2 separate regions of the Homo sapiens genome follow, and region 1 is linked to region 2. The links are contacts of gene promoters, found by promoter capture Hi-C in human tissues and cell types (Jung and others, 2019). All regions are on one chromosome and are shown on one strand. The core of a region is centred on a gene start or on the middle of the fragment in contact, and the rest is flanking DNA. Distances in the headings are between cores, read along the strand shown.

What was found. The method cuts DNA at HindIII sites, captures the fragments that hold promoters and counts their contacts. A contact is called where the count stands out against the background at its distance.
Region 1: a fragment that was not itself captured here is called in contact with the fragment with the promoter of DNAH10OS in region 2 in 2 of the 25 tissues and cell types used here (heart right ventricle and spleen).

Annotation. Positions count from the first base shown.
Region 1 is chr12:124,376,086-124,381,371 of GRCh38, reverse strand. It overlaps NCOR2 (nuclear receptor corepressor 2), which reads left to right. Exons shown (of 49, transcript NM_006312.6): 20 at 2,988-3,135. Among named protein-coding and RNA genes, the nearest start is that of MIR6880, 41 kb to the right of the region's middle. The HindIII fragment of the contact is 9,661 bases long and covers 1-5,286 here.
Region 2 is chr12:123,933,686-123,938,770 of GRCh38, reverse strand. It overlaps DNAH10OS (dynein axonemal heavy chain 10 opposite strand), which reads left to right and starts at 3,787. Exons shown (of 2, transcript NR_187476.1): 1 at 3,787-4,706. It overlaps DNAH10 (dynein axonemal heavy chain 10), which reads right to left. Exons shown (of 79, transcript NM_001372106.1): 78 at 4,005-4,150; 79 at 3,057-3,436. The coding sequence ends at 3,290. It overlaps CCDC92 (coiled-coil domain containing 92), which reads left to right. Exons shown (of 5, transcript NM_025140.3): 5 at 941-3,145. The coding sequence ends at 1,713. RefSeq lists enhancers at 1-221, 222-722. The HindIII fragment of the contact is 2,982 bases long and covers 1,850-4,831 here.

The DNA of each region.
Region 1 (5,286 bases), core at 1,834-4,333, 440 kb before region 2:
TGAGCTAATGATGGAGTGATCAGGGAAGACCTCTCTGATGTCTGAGCTAAGGCCCGAAGGAGGTGAGGAAGTGAGTTATGCAGATATCTAGGGGAAGGGTGTCCAGGCAGGGGAACAGCCAGTGTAGAGGCCCTGTGGCTGGGGCAGCGAGCAGGGAGGGCAGTGTGTTTGTAGCACAGTCTCTGAGGAGGGGAGAGGGGAGAGCAGCTTGGAGAGGCAGGCAGGGTCCAGGGCTGGATCACACAGGGCCATATGGATAGGGGGAGGACTTGGGGATTGTATCCAGGTGTTGGAGAGTTTGAAGCAGGGGGTGGCATGCGCTGATTTGCAGAGCAGCTGTGCAGGTCCAGTAAATTAATACCAGAAACCGCTTGGCGCATAGTAGGTGCTTAATAAACGTCAGGCATAATGATTAATGCCATCACTAGCATCTCCTATTCTACACACACCTCCTGATCCCACAGTGCCGGACCATGTGTGTAAGGATTAACTGTAACTCCTGGGACTCTCTCTGAGACCCAGCTTTGTGGGGATTCAGGGTGTTGGCACCATCCCCGTCCACTGCCTCAGAGACCCCACGCCGCCCCCCGCAGAGACACCTTGCACTCCAGGATGCTGGGCGCCACCACCAGGCCGACAGGAGACCCCTGTTCCCTGCGAGACTCTGAGCATCTCCCATGTCCCAGCCACCGCCCGGGCAGCTCAGGGCACCCAGCCCTGAGTCTTTCCTGAGCCTCTGTCTGCCAAAAATAGATTCGGGAAGCAGGGGGAGCCCTCGGCCGCAGCCGCAGAACCCACATGCCACCACTTTCTCAGGCCGCCACAGGCTCGAACTCTCCTGGGAGAGGCTCAGGATTCGGGGCAGGGCTGGGACTGGGCCCAGGACGTGTGCGGGGTTGCAGAGCTGGGCATCCCTGTGGGCCCTGTGGGCACTGGCAGGGGCAGGGCTGTGGCCCTCTGGCCGACTGTTGGTGTCGGAAACTGTGACTAACGGACGAGCAGTCGTTTCCCTTTTCCTCCCTGCGTTCCAAGGGGCTGTGCTCAGAGGAACCCTGTTTGCTCAGGAAGAAGGCAGGACAGGAAGTGATCCCACTCCCTGCCTGTGGCTGGGGCTTGGAGCCCGAGACCCCCTCTCCTCCCCTCCATGAGGCCCAGCTCCAGCCTGGCCACGGTGAAGGGCTGGGGTGGGCGGGGCCCACCTGGCATTTGCCCGAGAGCAGGCTGTGTGGTCTGGACGTCAGCAGCTTTTTCTTGGAATCCGGGTGCACCAGCGCAGAGGGATGTGTGATTCCCCCTGGCTGCCGCAAGGAAGTACCACAGACCGGTGGCTTCAAACAACAGAGATGTATTCTCTTCCAATTCTGGAGGCTAGACGTCTGGAACCAAAGCGTCCACAGGGCTGTGCTCACATTCAAGGCTGCAGGGGAGCCTCTTCCGTCTTCCAGCGACTGCTGGCAGTTCGTGACATTCTTTGGCTTGTAGCTGCATCTCTCCACATGTGCCTCCACTGCCACAGGGCCTTCGTGTCCCTGAATCCGTGTTTCCCTTTTCTTCCAAGGCTGTCAGTCCTGTTGGATTTAGGGCCCACCCCACTCCAGTGTGGCATCATCTTAACTAATGACATATGCAGGATCCCGTTTCTAAATAAGGTCTGAGGTTCCGGGTTGATGTGAACTTTGAGGGACACCATTCAACCCAGTACAGGGCTCTTGGCTGAGAGCTGCGGGCACCTCCAGGTGTGGCGGAGGGCCCACCTCTTTCTCAGCAACCCCAGAGGGATCAGGCTGCCGCCCCCCCGTCACACCAGGCTGTGGTGGGCACCCCCCAGTGTCTTTCCAGTCCCCCTGGGAGTCCCCAGTCACTTCGAGATGCTGCCTCCACGATGCCCCTGCTCTCTGCTGTCTATGCGTTCAAGCCCACGAAGGCTGGCCTTTCACAGTTGCTCAGCAAGTCAGTCAACAAACGCTTTCTGAGCCTCTGCCTGGCTCAGCGTGGGGACAAAGAGACACCCACCCCAGTGAGCTACCAAGACGAGTGGTTTGATGATGGTGCCTAAGCTGGGGGAAGAAGAGTGGGCTCTGTGTGTGAGGAGCTGGGGTTCCCAGGAGCAGGGTGCGGTGCGGGGAAAGTGGAGGCCCGACGATGAGGGCTTCTTTCCATTCCTGGACACACCCGGCATGTTCCCCACACTGGGGCCTTTGCACCTGTGACTCCCCGCACCTGCCACTCTCGTCCAGAGCCTGGCCTGGCCCATTCCCTCCGCCGTCAAATCTTGGCTCAAATGTCACTTCCTTGCAGAAGCTCTTCCAGACTGTTCTGTCCAGAGGAGCCCCTGCCTTGTGCTCCTTGTCCCATCCTGTTTCACCCACGCGACCCTCTGATCCTCTGAGTGCTGCTTCTGTGTGAGGAGCACGTTGCCAGTCTCCCCAGCGGCAGGGCAGCCTCCAAGGGCAGGACCTTGTCTACCCCGTGCCTTGTGTCCCCACAGCCCTGGTATGCAGAGCTGGGCACACAGTAGGTGTTCTGTAAAGGTTCAGGGAATGAAACGCGAGCTTCCCAGGCTGGCCTGTTCCCCCAGGGACAGGTGAGACTTGCATAGCAAGGAAAAGCTTCCTGTGTTCATTCACTCCACGTGTGCCGATGAAGCTGACAGGGTGTCCCCAGGAGGCGTGGTCACTCGCTCTGACTAGGAGACTCCTGGGCAATGTCAGGCAGGTTCTCTCGTGCTCAGGAAGGATGTCAGGGTGGCTGAGGGGCCAGCCTGTACCCAGAGTGTATCTGGGGCTCAATGGAAGAATAAAGCCCCCGGTAAAAATAAACCCTGGCACGCTTGGCTGCCGAGGTGGGGTGTGAGGGGGACGGTCACCCTCATTGCTACATGGCCGGGATCACTGCCCTTTGCACCTGCGGCGAGGCCCCAGGCATGGGGAGTCCCCGAGCTGACAGCCCAGGCCCCAGTCCTGATCTGCTGCTTCCCTGTGCCCCAGGAGAAGGAGAGGAACGCGCGGAGGAAGAAGAAGAAAGCGCCGGCGGCGGCCAGCGAGGAGGCTGCATTCCCGCCCGTGGTGGAGGATGAGGAGATGGAGGCGTCGGGCGTGAGCGGAAATGAGGAGGAGATGGTGGAGGAGGCTGAAGGTGAGGGCTGGCGCGGCTTGGAGGTGGCTGGCAGCTGTGGGTCCGAGCTCTGAGGGAGGGCATAGCGGGAACTGATCCCGGCAGCCTCCTCTCCCCTGAGTCATCTGGGTCCTCCTTAGAAGGGGCCTCGACTCCCTGGAAGGTGCGGGCCTGACTTGCCAGAAACTCACCAGTAATGGGCACAAGGATGAAGGCCATAACAATACTGAGAATAATCAGCTTCTCTGGGAGCCCCAAGCCTCGCTCAGCTCTTCTGATGCCCATGAGTCCAGTCTTATGCTTGGGTGACCAGACGTCCAGGCCAGCCCTGTGGGTGCCTGCTGTCTTTCACCCCATCCGATGTCACAGTTTAGAAAAAAATTTACTTTGGAAAAGTTTTTTTTTGTTTTTTTTTTTTTCAGACGGAGTCTTGCTCTGTCGCCCAGGCTGGAGTGCAGTGACGTGATCACGGCCCAGTGTAACCTCTGCCTCTCGGGTTCAAGCAATTCTCCTGCCTCAGCCTCCTGAGTAGCTGGGATTAGAGGTGCCCGCCGCCACACCCGGCTAATTTTTGTATTTTTAGCAGAGATGGGGTTTCGCCATGTTGGTCAGGCTGGTCTCAAACTCCTGACCTCAGGTGATCTGCCCACCTTGGCCTCCCAAAGTGCTGGAATTACAGGTGTGAGTCACCACGTCAGGCCCGAAAATTGTTTTTTGACCAGAACTCTTTTACAAGGTAACCAGCATAAATAGAACCTATCTGTCAGTCGGTAAATATTGTACAAGTTATATAGTTATTTTCAGTGTCTCCTTTTATTCCCAAGTGTCCCTATTTGAGTGATAAATAATTCAGTCCCCTTCTTTGGTGTCCCCGTTTTCTCTATGGGGAAACCGAGGCTCAGGCACTTAAAGGCCTGGGCCCAGGCGCCCCAGGTACCACGGAGTGTGTTGTTTGCACCAGCTGTAGACTAGACAAATGCCCCACCAGGTGAGTGCTGCTGAAGAGAGGGCGTAAAGCCATCGTGTGCATGGTGCTGGTGGGTCCCCCCGAGTCCCCTCAAATGCAGGACTGTGACCACATGAGCTGTGTGTTGTCCAGGGCTCCGGATAACACACGGCTCAACTTTGTTATCAGTGTGTATAGACCCGGGAACTGAACACGGGCTGCCGACACCTGGCCCCGCACTCTCGGTCACGAGTGCATCCACCTTCGACCCCCACCCTGTGCCTCTTTTTCCCTGTCAAAGGGGAAGCTGGGGGTCTAGACTGCTCCCCCTGTGGCGTGACCGAAGGCCCCTGGAGGACCTCAGCCCTTCTCTGCTGAGTGTCCCTGACTCTCCTTTCTGACTCTCTGAAGGAGAAACAAGCAGCCCGGCGGAGCCCAAGTCCTTGGTGAATTCAACCCTCCTTCCTCCTGCCCCGTCTGGGGTCCTTCTTGTTGTTCCTGTTGTCCCTCCCTCTCTGCCTTTGAACGCCCTGGCTTCTCCCTGGCAGAAGGTGCAAGTCACCTCCTGGTTCCATAAGCCCAGCCTGCAGATAAATCCAGGCTCCTCCAGCCCGCAGGGTTTCACCAGCCCGAATCCCCGCTTCCCGCTGGAAATGGGCAACTGGGCCCTTGGGTGACTCATCTCAAGTTGGGGGCGGGTCAGGGACACTGAGTCTGGCCTCCCCACCAGCTTTGGGTCTCTCTGACCCAAGTTGACCAGAAGCCTGGCTAGTGTCTGATGGAAGGAAGGCCTGGGCCACGAGTCCCTTGGGTCGTCCCATTTTGGGTCCTGGGTCTGTAGCCAGGAGAAGACCCCGGGAGCAGAAACCCAGTCCCCTCTGTAAATATCCCTCCAGTGTCTGAATGGGCGGGATGCAGGCTTGGTGGGAGCATTTCAGGAAGCCAAGCCATGGCCACACATTAAAACCGGAGCAGACGCCACCCAGGACTGTGTGGCAACGACCCCCGCATCGCTTGCAGAGCTTACGTAGCCCCGTAGGGACGGGGAGGGGCATGCTCTGCTGGGTGGGGGAGGAGGGAGGGCTGAGGTGGCTGGAGCTGAGGCTTCTGTGACAGTGGTGGTCTTCCGTGGCTGCTCTGAGAGATCAGGGACGGCAGGTGAGAGGCCCTGATTAAGCCTCCTGGTGCCCAGGGTGTTAGCCCATCTTAAGGACGAGGAGCCCAGG
Region 2 (5,085 bases), core at 2,538-5,037:
GGGTGTGTCTGACGGACACTCACTTGGAGAAGTGGTGCTCAGGAGACACTGAATCGGGAGCTGATGCTCAAGTTGAATTCCAGACCAGCAAGGAAGAGTCTAGAAAGAACTTCCCAGGGGCCAGGCAAGGAGGATGGCCAGCCAGCCAGCGTTAGGAGGAGTAGGATGGTGACCCAGGGTTTAGAGCCAAGGGTGCTATGTGAGGTGACCAGGGACTGCAGGTCACCAGAAGAGCAGGAGAAGGAGGTGGCTGGTGTTTGCTGAAGGACTGGGTGAGGGCAGGCACCCAGGGACAGCAAAAGGAGGCAGAGGCCCGAAGTGTTAGGGCAGGGGCAGGGAGGGACCAAGGGTAAGAGCCACAGAGGCGAGACAGCTCACTCTCTGAGCAGGAAGTGGGAAAGAGTCTGTGTGTGTGTGTGTGTGAGAGAGACGGGGGTAGGGGGGTGAGAGAGGCGGCCAGCGGCAGAGCAAAGGTGACAGCCCCACACCTCTTCTCCTCTAAACATCAGAATTTTAATTCAATAGACATGGATAATTCTTTTTACATTTGAGTTTCAAAACAGTACTTTGAATGTAGCAGGCATTCCATAAATGCCATCTGAGCAGACAGAGGGATTTGCGGCCAGTTGAATCCTAAGTGTTTGCTGAGGTCTGATACTCTGCAATTGCCTGTTTTAAGTTCAGCATCTTTAAGGTTCAGAGACATTCTTTTATGCAGTAGGCCAGAGAACTAAGAGCCGGAAAGGGCCTCTGAGATGCCCCGATCTCCCCACCTCGGGGAGGGGAGGGGTCTTTCCAGAGCCCCCACAGCCCTGCCTTCTGCATGGCCCCCACAGCCTAGACAGGGCCCCCACCAGACAGGTCCGCCTGCCCCATAGGCCTCACCACTCGGCCTCAGTCTAATGAGTTCTTCACCTGCTTCCTCGGCTTATTCTTGTAGGAGACGGGACTTCTAAAAGCAGTGAATTAAAGAAAAGATGTGAAGAGCTGGAAGCCCAACTGAAAGTGAAAGAGAACGAAAATGCTGAGTTGTTGAAAGAACTGGAGCAGAAAAACGCGATGATCACAGTGCTGGAGAACACCATCAAGGAGCGAGAGAAGAAGTACCTGGAGGAGCTGAAGGCCAAGAGTCACAAGCTGACCCTGCTGTCTAGCGAGCTGGAGCAGCGGGCCAGCACCATCGCCTACCTGACCTCCCAGCTGCACGCCGCCAAGAAGAAGCTCATGAGCTCCAGCGGGACCTCAGATGCCAGCCCGTCAGGGAGCCCCGTGCTGGCCAGCTACAAGCCAGCGCCCCCCAAAGACAAGCTACCCGAAACGCCTCGCCGCCGCATGAAAAAGAGCCTCTCAGCCCCCTTGCACCCGGAATTTGAAGAGGTCTACAGATTCGGGGCAGAGAGCAGGAAACTCCTTTTGCGGGAACCAGTGGATGCTATGCCCGACCCCACCCCATTTCTGCTGGCTAGGGAGTCCGCCGAGGTCCACCTCATCAAAGAGAGGCCCCTCGTCATCCCCCCCATCGCCTCCGACCGAAGCGGCGAGCAGCACAGCCCGGCCCGCGAAAAGCCGCACAAGGCCCACGTCGGGGTGGCACATCGGATCCACCACGCCACCCCGCCGCAGGCCCAGCCCGAGGTGAAGACCCTGGCGGTCGACCAGGTGAACGGAGGCAAGGTGGTGAGGAAGCACTCAGGGACGGACAGAACTGTGTGAAGCCCGCCGTGCCCCACCCCGCGCTGTCCATGCACTGTGAGCACCACTGGGAAATCTCAGCCACACCTTTTCTGTTTAATCCCATGCATGCCAAACACTTTTCACACCTACCGACCCATTCTCCTTCTGCTTCTCTTGCCCTCTTCTTCACACCAAAATATGATCGTGTCCCTGCCGCAGAATATGTATTTCCTAATTGCTGTGGCCAAACGCCTGTGTGCCGAATCGCTTGCTTCTGATCCCGCTCCGTGTAACCTAAGTGCGCTGCAGGCAAAGCCCAGGCCACGGCTGCGTCACTACTGATGTTCACGATGCCACACAGTCACACACCTAATTCATTCTCAAGTCGGAGCAACACATACCAACCTTGACCTTATCCTCAAGCTCCAGGGCAGCCTGGCCGAGCAGCCCCTGCTCCCTCCTGGAGACCCTTGTCACCTCCCGAGCTCCTCCTGGAGACCCCTGTCACCTCCTGACCAACCTTTCCCAGGGCGGCACCGATCACCGAGCAGCCGTGCGTGTATCTCAAGGAACTAAATAAGATGACGCTACTCCTCATAGCACCACAACCTGAATGTGTGTTCATATTTTTTTGTTAGTTTTATCCAAAATGTTTAAGATCCCAACAAACTTTATTTTCTAAACCTGCCTTCCTTCTGTTTTGTGTCTTTTATTAAACAAACACCTGAAGGAGGGCTAGGAGACTGCAGGAGGGAGAGCAATCACAGGTCCCAGAAGCGACTCCGGCCTCCTCCCGGCCCAGAGCTAGTCCTTAGAATGTGCTGCGCTCCTGAGCTTCTGTGGGAAGCTGCTTTTGCCTCTGATGGCCCCTGCCCACTGTGCTGCCCGTGCTAGCCCCTCTCCTCCCTCATGGAGTGAAGCCACCCCTCACCTCCAGGTGGCCAGCCAGGGCTCCAGGCCAGCCTCATGGTGCACAGAGGGAAGGGGTGCCCAGTGACCACTGGTCCTGGAGGTTCTGTGTCCTTACCTGACCCCACACAGACCCAGGCAGGCTGGGGGTAGAAGCTCATGCAGGAACTAAACACTAAGCTCAACAACTTCACAGTCGCCGTAGCAGGTCAGAGCCAAAGAAGCTAGGGCCAGAGAGTTCTGGAAGGGGGAGAAGTGGCTCCAGGTGACTGGTCACTTCTGCTCTGTGCCCGACATCATCAGCCCTTCTTGCCAAAAAGGAGCATCTGCTGAAACAGACCTGGATCATCGAAAACACACCTTTGGAAATTACATTAGGATTCTCACTTGTGCCAATGCTATGTATGCCAGGCACTTTTGCCTAATCAAGTGTTTTCTCTGAGAAGGAAAAGAAAACTCCACACATCTTAAAATACTCTCCAATATTTACTTTTTGATTATATAAATTCCTTTTAAAAAGTAGTATTAAAAACAAAACCATTCAGGTTAATTTGTATGGAAAGAGATTTAAGTGGCTGATTTCAAATGAAAAATCAGTGTCAGTCCCCCTCCTGCCTCTTGAGAGGCCCCAAGAAATGACAGCAGACCCGATCACTCTGACAACCCCAGGCTCCGAATTCATTAAGCAGTTTTCTTCACCCAAAGGTTAATCAGAATTCAGGGTGAGGCATACTCCTTGCAGCACCCAGTGAGAAATGTGCCTCGTGGTAAAGAGATCAGCTTCAAAAACCAAGCCGACTCCCATGGCGTTCCTTCTCATGGAGGTGGTGTAGACGGGGGTCCGGAAAGTATTCTGCAAGGGAAAGGCAGGTGAGATGCCCCCACGGAGAGAGGGTGCAGAGGGATAAAGGCAGAGGTGCAGTGTAAGTCTTGACAGGCAGGGGCCCCTGTGCAAGACTGCACCTGAGAACACGCACAAGGCTGGGGCTGCTCAGGGCCACCCTCCGCCAGCTTCACGGGGACCTGGCTTCACACTGACACCCTGGTTAAAAGTGGGTCCTGGCCCAGGCAGAGCAGAAGACATCTGCTGTCCACACCAGCGGGAACCACTTTATGACTCAGGCAATGTCTGCAGCATTTTGCAAGAAGGGAGGGAGTCTCCCCTTGGTTAGTCTAGACCACAGGATCACAGCTTGAGCCTGACACCTCTGGAAGGACCGGCATCCACACACACATACAGCCGCGCCTTTTCCAGGAAGCAGCTATCCGTAGCTTTTATCACGGCTCCAAGACTCTCCCCAGCCCATAAAGCTTAGGCACCCCTGTTTTAAAAAGTAGGACTGTTGGAAACCACCTCAGCCATAACTACAGTCAGAAGAGGAAGGGCCCTGGTGTCAGAGAGGAGGGGCTGGGACCTTCACCTGCAGCTTGAGGCGATGGGCTTCAATGGGGATGATCTTCAGGATCGGCAGGTCCACAACCAGCACCTTGGGTTTGCTCTTGATAAGACATCCTTTTTCTATATCCCAGTCAGCACCTTCCAGGTACAGTCCTGAGACAAAGCATCCTAGGGACACAAGGCAGAGACTGGATACAACTGGAGCATGCACAGCCTGCCACGGAGTGGCTCTATCAGGCGCACACACAGCGACACACAGGCCACTGGCTGGCCTCCTCCCCAGCGCATTGGGGACAGCCCAGGCCCTTCTCCAGCATTTCTGTCCTGCCCACCTTCCCTCTGTGGAGGAGCAGCCCAGACAGGAGACCCTGTGGCCCTGCCCCATGGCCCAGAGAAATGGGTGTGGGGCGGTGGCCTCTCCCCCAGGAATCCTCATTCCTGGGGCATCAAGGCCCACGGACTTAGACCACCCTGGGCCCCCAGGCTAGAAAGATGCATGGTCCCAGAGTCAGAATGGGCACCATGGCAACCCCAGCTACCCTGTGAGCCGAAGTGGCTGGGGAGCAGGAAGTCGAAGCCTCACAGAGAAAGTGGTCTCCGGGGAGGAGGACCCAGCAGATGTGCAAAGAGAGGAACACACTCCTGTGGCCCCAGAGAGAGTGGTGGCCCGGACACCTGCCACCTCCCCTGCCACTGAGACCTGGAGAGTCCCTGCATCTTTACCGTAAGTCCCCAGTCCTTAAGCCATCTCAAAAGAGCTTTTGTTCCTTGCAGTTAAAAGAACTCTAAGACAACATGGACCCGGGGAAACAGCAGTTTCCAGCTCTCATTTGCACAGTCAGTAACCAATGTCTAAGGGACCTGAAGTTCTGGCATAATCAAAGAGTTCCAACCAAGTTAGTCCATGCTGCTCTGTGGCTCCCATGCCCCTGGCCCCGTCAGGGGTTACAAGAAAGCCACCTGATGGTTTTTGCAAGAGCTAATTCTGACCTAGGAGCCCACTTGCCATGAGCTAGCAGAGTGAACATGGTTCAGGTCTCCCCTGCCATAGACCCCAGGTCTCAACGGAGAAAGTGGAAGAGAAACTTCCGTATCCACCCTCA